Linked DNA regions of Homo sapiens: region 2 is linked to region 1. The links are contacts of gene promoters, found by promoter capture Hi-C in blood cells and fetal thymus (Javierre and others, 2016). All regions are on one chromosome and are shown on one strand. The core of a region is centred on a gene start or on the middle of the fragment in contact, and the rest is flanking DNA. Distances in the headings are between cores, read along the strand shown.

The links. Contacts are between HindIII fragments. The CHiCAGO score rates a contact against its expected background, and 5 or more counts as called.
Region 2: a contact is called between a fragment that was not itself captured here and the fragment with the promoter of DENR in region 1, in 1 of 17 cell types (total B cells). The highest score is 5.6, in total B cells.

Annotation. Positions count from the first base shown.
Region 1 is chr12:122,751,404-122,755,535 of GRCh38, reverse strand. DENR (density regulated re-initiation and release factor) reads right to left here and starts at 2,712. Exons shown (of 8, transcript NM_003677.5): 1 at 2,586-2,712; 2 at 1,729-1,843. The coding sequence starts at 1,834. RefSeq lists enhancers at 2,204-2,263, 3,355-4,132 and a silencer at 2,404-2,453. The HindIII fragment of the contact is 18,243 bases long and covers 1,653-4,132 here.
Region 2 is chr12:122,396,086-122,400,331 of GRCh38, reverse strand. All of the region lies in intron 1 of CLIP1 (CAP-Gly domain containing linker protein 1), which reads left to right. CLIP1-AS1 (CLIP1 antisense RNA 1) reads right to left here. Exons shown (of 3, transcript NR_045382.1): 2 at 3,627-3,749; 3 at 388-1,036. Among named protein-coding and RNA genes, the nearest start is that of CLIP1-AS1, 2.7 kb to the right of the region's middle. RefSeq lists an enhancer at 314-373. The HindIII fragment of the contact is 1,634 bases long and covers 665-2,298 here.

The DNA.
Region 1 (4,132 bases), core at 1,463-3,962:
GTGATCTCGGCTCACTGCAACCTCTGCCTCCCGGGTTCAAGTGATTCTCCTGCCTCAGCCTCCCAAGTAGCTGGGATTACAGGTGCCTGCCACCAGGCCTGGCTAAGTTTTTGTATTTTTAGTAGAGACGGGGTTTCACTATGTTGGCCAGGCTGGTCTTGAACTCCTGACCTCATGATCTGCCTGCCTCAGCCTCCCAAAGTGCTGGGATTACAAGTGTGAGCCACTGCGCCCGGCCCCTTAGTTTTAATTCATAATTACAGAAAAATAAAACAAGATTTCTAGAGACTGACATTTTCACTAAGCTTCCAAACTTCTCACCAACTAAGCAATTCTCTATGTGGTGAAATCTACCCAGTTCACCTCGTTCCAGGTACACCCCAAGAATCTTTCTGGCTTTTCTCTCTTTCTCCCTTAGAAAAGCTCATATACTGTCTCTCTCTGCTGCCAAATGCAGCATACTTGGATTCTTCCATTTGGAGAAACTCAAATTCACTGTATTGCAAGTCAGCCTATTATCTATCTCCAAATCTAATCTTTCTCAAAGTCATCATTTTTAGTGGTGTTCTGGTTTTTCAACTCTCTCAATTGTGAAATATCTTTTTCCTTTTTCACCATTAAACATTGTATCTTTTCTTTGATTAACCCTCTTTATTCACTTTTATACTGCTTACACTCTCAGCAAGGCACTTATTTACCTCAAACCTAGATTTCTGAAAGTGGCCTTCAAATTTGTGGGTTCTATTTCCTCCAAATAATGCAGCATATTAATCTCTTGTCACTTTATTTTCCTGCTCAAAAAATGATTAGGTTGGTGCAAAAGTAACTGCAGTTTTTGCCATTACTTTTAATGGCAAAAAGATATCATTTCTCCTTCTACGGTACTTAAATGTCAGATGTGGTCTCTACTGCAGTCACAGAATGTAAGGTCCACGTGAACAAGGATCTTCTGACTTATTCACTACTCAGGCCCCAGCACCTAAAACATCACTAGGCACACAGTAAGTTCTGAGAAATATTTACTGAAAAAATATTTACTTGCCCTTTTACTGTCCTGTATCTTCAGATTTTTCTGAAAGTTTCCAAGATGCGAATACATACAGCATTTACAATTCACAAATATTTCTATATTGAAAATGAAGAAAAACACTCGAAAGTGAAAAAGATCTTGATTAAACCTAATACATATATCATGATTCAAACCAAGAAGACTTTCCTCACTGTCCTACCACCCAACACTCCAACCTCACCTTCTCCCACTCCTTAACGGGCCACCCTCCCTATACGATACACCAGACAAACTCAAAGCTGCTCACTTCTTCACAGACAGCCATCAAGCTTTTTCTTACATAGTCGTGCGCTTTGTCTGGGACGCCGTTCCCCACCTTCTCATCCAGTCCTTGCCATCCTTAACTCATAATCTTCCAAGAAGCCCTCCTTTGACAGCTAGACTAGCATACACCTTGAGGACCTTCAGGCTGAAATAACCTAGTTGCACATCCTGTTACAAATGGACTGTAAGCTTCTTCAGGCAGAGTAGCCAGACACAAATCACCCAGGTGGGGAAACTCTGTTAATTCATGCCTCCTCCTCCCCAGGACTCCTCTCCCCCAGTACAAACTCACCAAATGAAAAGGATGGGGAAGAAAGCTTACCAAATGTCAAACTGTTATTACAATGCATAAAAGTATAGTGAGTAAAAGTCATTCTGTGGCTACCAACACTTGCCTCCACAATAAAGGACTCGAAGTGGGTAATCGGCATCTAACTTGGCACTGTTCCTTGGGTCTCCTTTGCAGTCAGCCCCGCTGGATTCAGAAATGTCAGCAGCCATTTCACAAACCTGTAAGCAAGGAAAATAACACACCCTCACTATTTTAGAATCAAGACCCCAGAAGAGCAGTGTTCCTCTCAACAGAAACCTCCCCACCCCAAAGCTGTTTCAAGTCTGTTGTTGAGTGGGGGATACAAGCTGCATTCGATTCATAAAATATGAGCAATCCCAGGCACAACATCTCCTTGCTCCACAGGTCTACAGGGAAGCAAGCAGCAAATGGACCATGAAGGATGGGGCAGAGGGACTCACTAGAGAAAAACAGGAAGCAATGGGGAAGGAAAGATGGGGTGAGTACCCACGGCAGACACGGAGCAAAAAGGTCTGAGGGTGATCTGGGAGGGATGCAAACTGCAGTGAGAGAAGGGCTACAAAGGCGCCGAATGGAGAGAGGCTGGAAGTGCCTAGGAACAAGGGGTGGGTCATCGGAGAAGCCCGGGGTGCAGGGTGTGGGGGCAACTAAACGCCATGAGAGGGGCCTGGGGAGTCTAAAAAGGGCATGGGAGGGGGCGGGGTAACCAGAGCGTAAGAAGGATGAGGAGAGAAAACGAGCGCAGAATGTAAGAGCACTGAGGGGACAAGGGCGACCAGGTCTGAGGCGAAGGAGCAACCCCGGGGACGCCAGAAGGGGCCCTTGTGGGCGGGGGTGTGGAGAGGCCCGGCCCGGCCCCCTTCCGCCAGGCAGCATCTCAGCTTCCCCCACACTCTCTACGAGCTTCTCGGGAGCGGGAGAAGCACTTGGGGTCGTTACCCAGGCGGTCGCACAGGCCCCGCCGGCTCCGCTCCCGCCGCTATCGCCAGCTGAACCAACACATGCAACTCGTCTCCCCGGCCAGGGCCGCCCGAGCGCCCGACCGCCAGCAGCGCTCCCGCGAGACAATGAGCCTTTATCGCGAGATTCCGGCCGCCGCTGGGCGGATGTCGCGAGAAGCCGGAAGACGGGGGCGGAGAAAAATTGCGGAGCGTGCGCCTTGCCCTCCGGTGGGGGGCGTGGCCAAGAGGCCGAGAGGCGGGCCGCCGGCAGGCGGTGCTCGTCACCCGTTGGAGAGGATGAATCCTCGAGATGGGCGTGCCGAAGGGAACGTGACTTGCAGACGCAGAGAGCGCACCTGAGTCACAAATGACTCCCTATTAATGAGTCCGAGGATCATCGCCTCGGTGTCTGCGGTGCATCCTGGAGTCCTGACTAACCTCCAGCTACTGCATAAATCACTCCCGTGCGGGGAGATTGCAGCCGGATAGAGCGTTTGGTCGCATTTTAACACCATGCACTGAATTAAAGGAAGGTGTTCTCCCTCCCTCCCTCCCTCCCTTCCTTCTTTCCTTCCTCTCTTCTTTTCTCTCTCTCTTCGCCGGATGGAGCGTTTGGTTGCGTTTTAACACCATACACTAAATTAAAGGAATTCTTTTTTCTTTCTTTTCTGTTCTTTCTTTTCTTTCTTCTTTCTCTTCTTTCTGTCTCTTTCTTCCCCTTCCCTCCCTCCCTCCCTTCCTTCCTTCTTTCCTTCCTTCCTCCCTCCCTTCCTTCCTTCCTCCCTCCCTTCCTTCATCCTTTTCTTTATGTTTTGACAGGGTCTCACTCTGTCACCTAGGCTGGATGGAGTGCAGTTGCACAAACACGGTTCACTGCAGCCTCGACCTCCCAAGTAGTTGGGAATACAGGCGCGCGTTACCACACCCAGCTAATTTTTAATTTGTTTATAGAGGTGGGGGAATCTCCCTATGCTGTCCAGGCTGGTCTCGAACTCCCGGACTCAAGGGATCCTCCCGCCTCCGCCTCCCAAAGTGCTGGGATTACAGGCGTGAGCCACCGCGCCCGGCCTACAATTTTTTTTAATGAAAAAAAGAAAAATGTAAGAGTATGGGAATATATGGGGAAAAGAAAGATCAGATTGTTACTGTGTCTGTGTAGAAAGAAGTAGACATAAGAGACTCCATTTTGTTCTGTGCTAAGAAAAATTCTTCTGCCTTGAGATGCTGTTAATCTGTAACCCTACCACCAACCCTGTGCTTCCTGAGACCTGTGCTGTGTCAACTGAGGGTTAAATGGATTAAGGGCTGTGCAGGATGTGCTTTGTTAAACAAATGCTTGAAGGCAGCATGCGCCTTAAGAATCATCACCACTCCCTAATCTCAAGTACCCAGAGACACAATACACTGCAGAAGGCCGCAGGGACCTCTTCCTAGGAAAGCCAGGTATTGTCCAAGGTTTCTCCTCATGTGATAGTCTGAAATATGGCCTCGTGGGAAGGGAAAGACCTGACCATTCCACAGCCCGACACCTGTAAAGGGTCTGTG
Region 2 (4,246 bases), core at 232-2,731, 350 kb after region 1:
CCGTGACATTGGATAGTTGACTTTTTTGTTTTACTCAAGAATTGAAGAAAATTTGCAAATGCCCTTCAATCTTATTTATCTTTTTCAGTCTCTTCTGTATATACAGAAATATGAATGTGAATGAAGTGGAAGGAAGAAAATCAAATAGCTTGCCCTTTCTTAAGGGGAAACAAGTCAATTTGGAAAGGTCCCAGCGTTGTGTAAGTGTTTTCAGTGGCTCAAGCCGAGGAGCTCAGGTTACACTGCATCTCCTGTGTTGGGGGTGGGGACAGCAAGTGACACAGCATACTTACGTAACCGTGACTTCAGGGGACAGGATTAAGCTGTGAATGAACCTCCCAAACCCAGGAATATGATATGAGAACATAGCCTTTGAATTTCTCTCTCAAGTTTGACTTGAAAAATCAGCCTCAGAAACATCTTTATCTTAAGATAGATTTCCGTTGCTCTCAGAACGTCTCTCCCCTGACCTTCTGTTATTAAGTTCATGGACATACAGCATTTTAGAATTAGGTGGGGGCTCCGAAGTCTGCGAGTGCAGCTGTGCACAGGTAAGTCACTTCACCCGCCTGGTGCTGAATTTCCTTTGGGTCTTGAAGCAGGGCCGCGTTGAAACCTGGGTTTCTGGACGTTGTAGCTACCACGCAGCCTGTTTCTGGAAGCTTGGTGTTAAACTCCCTCTCCTGGCAGGTTAAATTCATTGCAAATTCTTCAACTCTCCTTTGCCTCCCAACAGAATTTTTAGATTTAGTAAATAAAGTGGCATTTTCATTTTGTGGATGGGGCAAAATGGACTGGAAAGGGTCTGATGTGTAGAGATGTGATTTTCTTGGGGCAACGTGATGCCGCTCTATGTGTGCCAGGAGGTGCTGAGCCTGTTTGAAGCTCTTATCAGATCTGGGTTCTTTCTTCACTGATGGCAGAGGTCTGTACTTTTCACTTTGGCAAAGTTAGAGCCACAGTCTTTCCTTTCACTTCTGAATCCTTGACCTTTTGCTTACAGGATTTGGATTTGATACCCAAAACAGGACTAGAACTGTGAAGGTATGGAGTTAGAAACAGATCTTATTTAATTAGTGTCCTCAGGTTGAAGTTGGGAATACTGAGCCGGGGAAGGGGTTATGTGAGTTGTTCAGGGTCATCCAACTGGGGTGGAATTTAGGTGTCTCACTTCCTAGTCCAGCTCTCTGTTCATACTTTTTTATTTATTTGAACCATGACATTTAAAAAATAGGAGTAAACATAACCTTAAGAAATCAGATGAGAATATGAAGAATATTACTGCTTTTTGTATGAACATAATTTTCACCATTCTTGTTTTTGGGAACTGCTTGTTTTGTGGAACCTCTTGTTTCTGTAAATTGCTTAAGGTTTTTTTTTTTTTTTTTTGGATATCTGGTCAGGAGGAAGGGGGATTAGATTTTATTAAAATATATATTTTCTATAATAAGTGTCTTTTTTTCTTAAACTTTTTAAAAAAAGATTTTAGAGATAAAGTCTTGCTAATATTGCCTAGGCTGGACTCAATCTCCTGGGCTCAAGCGATCCTCCCACCTCAGTCTCCGAAGTAGCTGGGATTCCAGGCAGGCGCCACCATGCCCGGCTAATTAAAAAAAATTTTTTTTTTTTAGAGATGGGGTTTCACTATGTTGCCCAGGCAGCTCTCAGACTCCTGGACTTAAGTGATCCACCTGCCTTGGCCTCCCAAAATGCTGGGATTATAGGTGTGAGCCACCATGCCTGGGCAAACTTGTGTGTTTTAAAAACATATTTTGTTCTTACGAGTAAAATGTCTCTGCTTTTATAAAAATATAGTACTTTAATTATTCACATTATAATGCTTTTTGTGATATAAAGCATTTCAATCTTAGAGGCTCGTCCTTAAAATTAATTTTTTTTTTTTTTTTAAGGTGGAGTCTCATTCTGTCGCCCAGGCTGGAGTGCAGTGGCGTGATCTCGGCTCACTGCAACCTCCACCTCCAGGGTTCAAGCTATTCTCCTCAGCCTCCCAAGTAGCTGGTATTACAGGCGCCTGCCACCACGACCAGCTAATTTTTTTTTTTTTTTTTTGTATTTTCAGTAGAGACAGGGTTTCACCATGTTGGCCAGGCTGGTCTCAAATTCCTGACCTCTGGTGATCCGGCTGCCTTGGCCTTCCGAAGTGCTGCGATTACAGGCATGAGCCACCAAGCCCAGTCCCTTAAAATTAATTTATTTGAGGAATTTACTTGGCCAAGATGATTCAAAGCTCTAAGCAAAGTTTTTATCTGTTTGCCACTGTATTACATAAAATAAGCTTGCCACTATACCATATAAGCCCACTTATTTCAGTGGCTGAAACTGATAAGTTAATTTTCTTTTTTTTTTGTTTTTTTTTGAGACGGCGTCTCACTCTGTTGCCCAGGCTGGAGTGCAGTGGCACAATCTTGGCTCACTGCAACCTCTGCCTCCTGGCTTCAAGCGATTATCCTGCCTCAGCCTACTGAGTAGCTGGGATTACAGGCATGCGCCTCCACTCTCGACTAATTTTTATATTTTTTTTTTAGTAAAGATGGGGTTTCACCATGTTGGCCAGGCTGGTCTCGAACTCCTGACCTTGTGATCGGACTGCCTCCCAAAGTGCTGGGATTATAGGTGTGAGCCACCATGCGTGGCCGATAAGTTGATTTTCAGTTTTGGAAAAGTTTAGGATACATATTTACTGATGGGAAAATGGGGAGAGGTGATTCAGGTGTCTAGACTTCTTTCTTCCTTTTTTTTTTTTTTTTTTTTTTTTTTGGAGATGGAGTCTGGCTCTGTCGCCCAGACTGGAGGGCAGTGGTGTGATCTTGGCTCACTGCAACCTCTGAGATTACAGGCGTGCACCACTATGCCCGGCTAATTTTTGTATTTTTTTGTAGAGAGAGGTTTTTGCCATGTTGCCCAGGCTGGTCTCAAACTCCTGACCTCAGATGATCCACCCACTTTGGTCTCCCAAAGTGCTGGGATTACAGGCATGAGCCACACGCCTGAACTCTTCCATCTTTTGATTCTGTTGTCTTCAGTACATGCTTTCGAGGTTGCTGGGCTTGTCTCCATCAAGCCATCAGAAGGGCAAAGAGCATGGGGGATTGTACACAGTAGGTTCCTCTGGGCTAGGCCTAGAGTGGCACATGCCTCACACACTTATTCCACTGGCTAGAACTCAGTCACGTGATCATACTGAACTGTAGCGGGAGCTGGGAAATATGGTGTGAATCCAGGAAGAAAAAGAGGCCAGGCACGGTGGCTTACGCCTGTAATCCCAGCACTTTGGGAGGCCAAGGTTGGTGGATCGCTTGCACCCAGGAGTTCAAGACCAGCCTAGGCAACATGGTAAAACCCCATCTCTACAAAAAAAAAAAAAAAAAAAAAAAAAATTTGCCGGGTGTGGTGGTGTCTGCCTGTAGTCCCAGCTACTTGGGAGGCTGAGGTGGAAGGATGGCTGGAGTCTGGGAGGTCAAGGCTGCCATGAGCCATGAGTGCATCACTGCAGTTCAACCTGGGCAACAGGGCAAGACTCTGCCTCAAAAAAAAAAAAATAAACAACAACAAAAAAGTCTTGGTGAACAGCTAGCCACCCTCTCCCCCTCTCCATATGTATTCACTTCCATCCTGGCTTGGCTGTACTGCACTCTTGTTTCTGTGGAGAAAGCAGCTCAGTAGAGTCTGTTTCTTCACTCTTTCGGTTGAAGCCGTTTTACTGTGGCTCAAAAGAATTTTTTTTCTGCCTGTGAAATTAATTATACCTGTTCATTAAATAAAATTTCTATAGACCCAAGAAAACACAGATAAAAATTACCAGTGATTCCATTGAGATAATTGTTCTGAGTCCCTGTTACAGTTCCCTTCAATTTCAGAATTTTTAAGCACTTAGAAATAATAAAATGTCACTAATTCTTACTCTGTGCTGGCTTGCAAACTTCAAAACTCTTAAGAGGGAGGAAACAACAGCCTGGCCATTTTGCCTTTTCCTCACAAAGATACACAGGGCTATTCCGGAGCTGTCCCGAGGCTTTATTCTTCTGGCATTTTCAAAATGACTTAGACATCTTAATCTCCACTTCTCCTTAGTAAACAGGGTAAATATTGGGGCTGGTGAACTCAATAGTTTATTAGGATGGCAAGGGTAACATTTTAAGTTTATGATTTATTTTCTACTCAGTTATCAGGATTCTTTTTTCTTTCCTTTTTCTTTTTTTTTTTTTGAGATGGAGTCTTGCTCTAT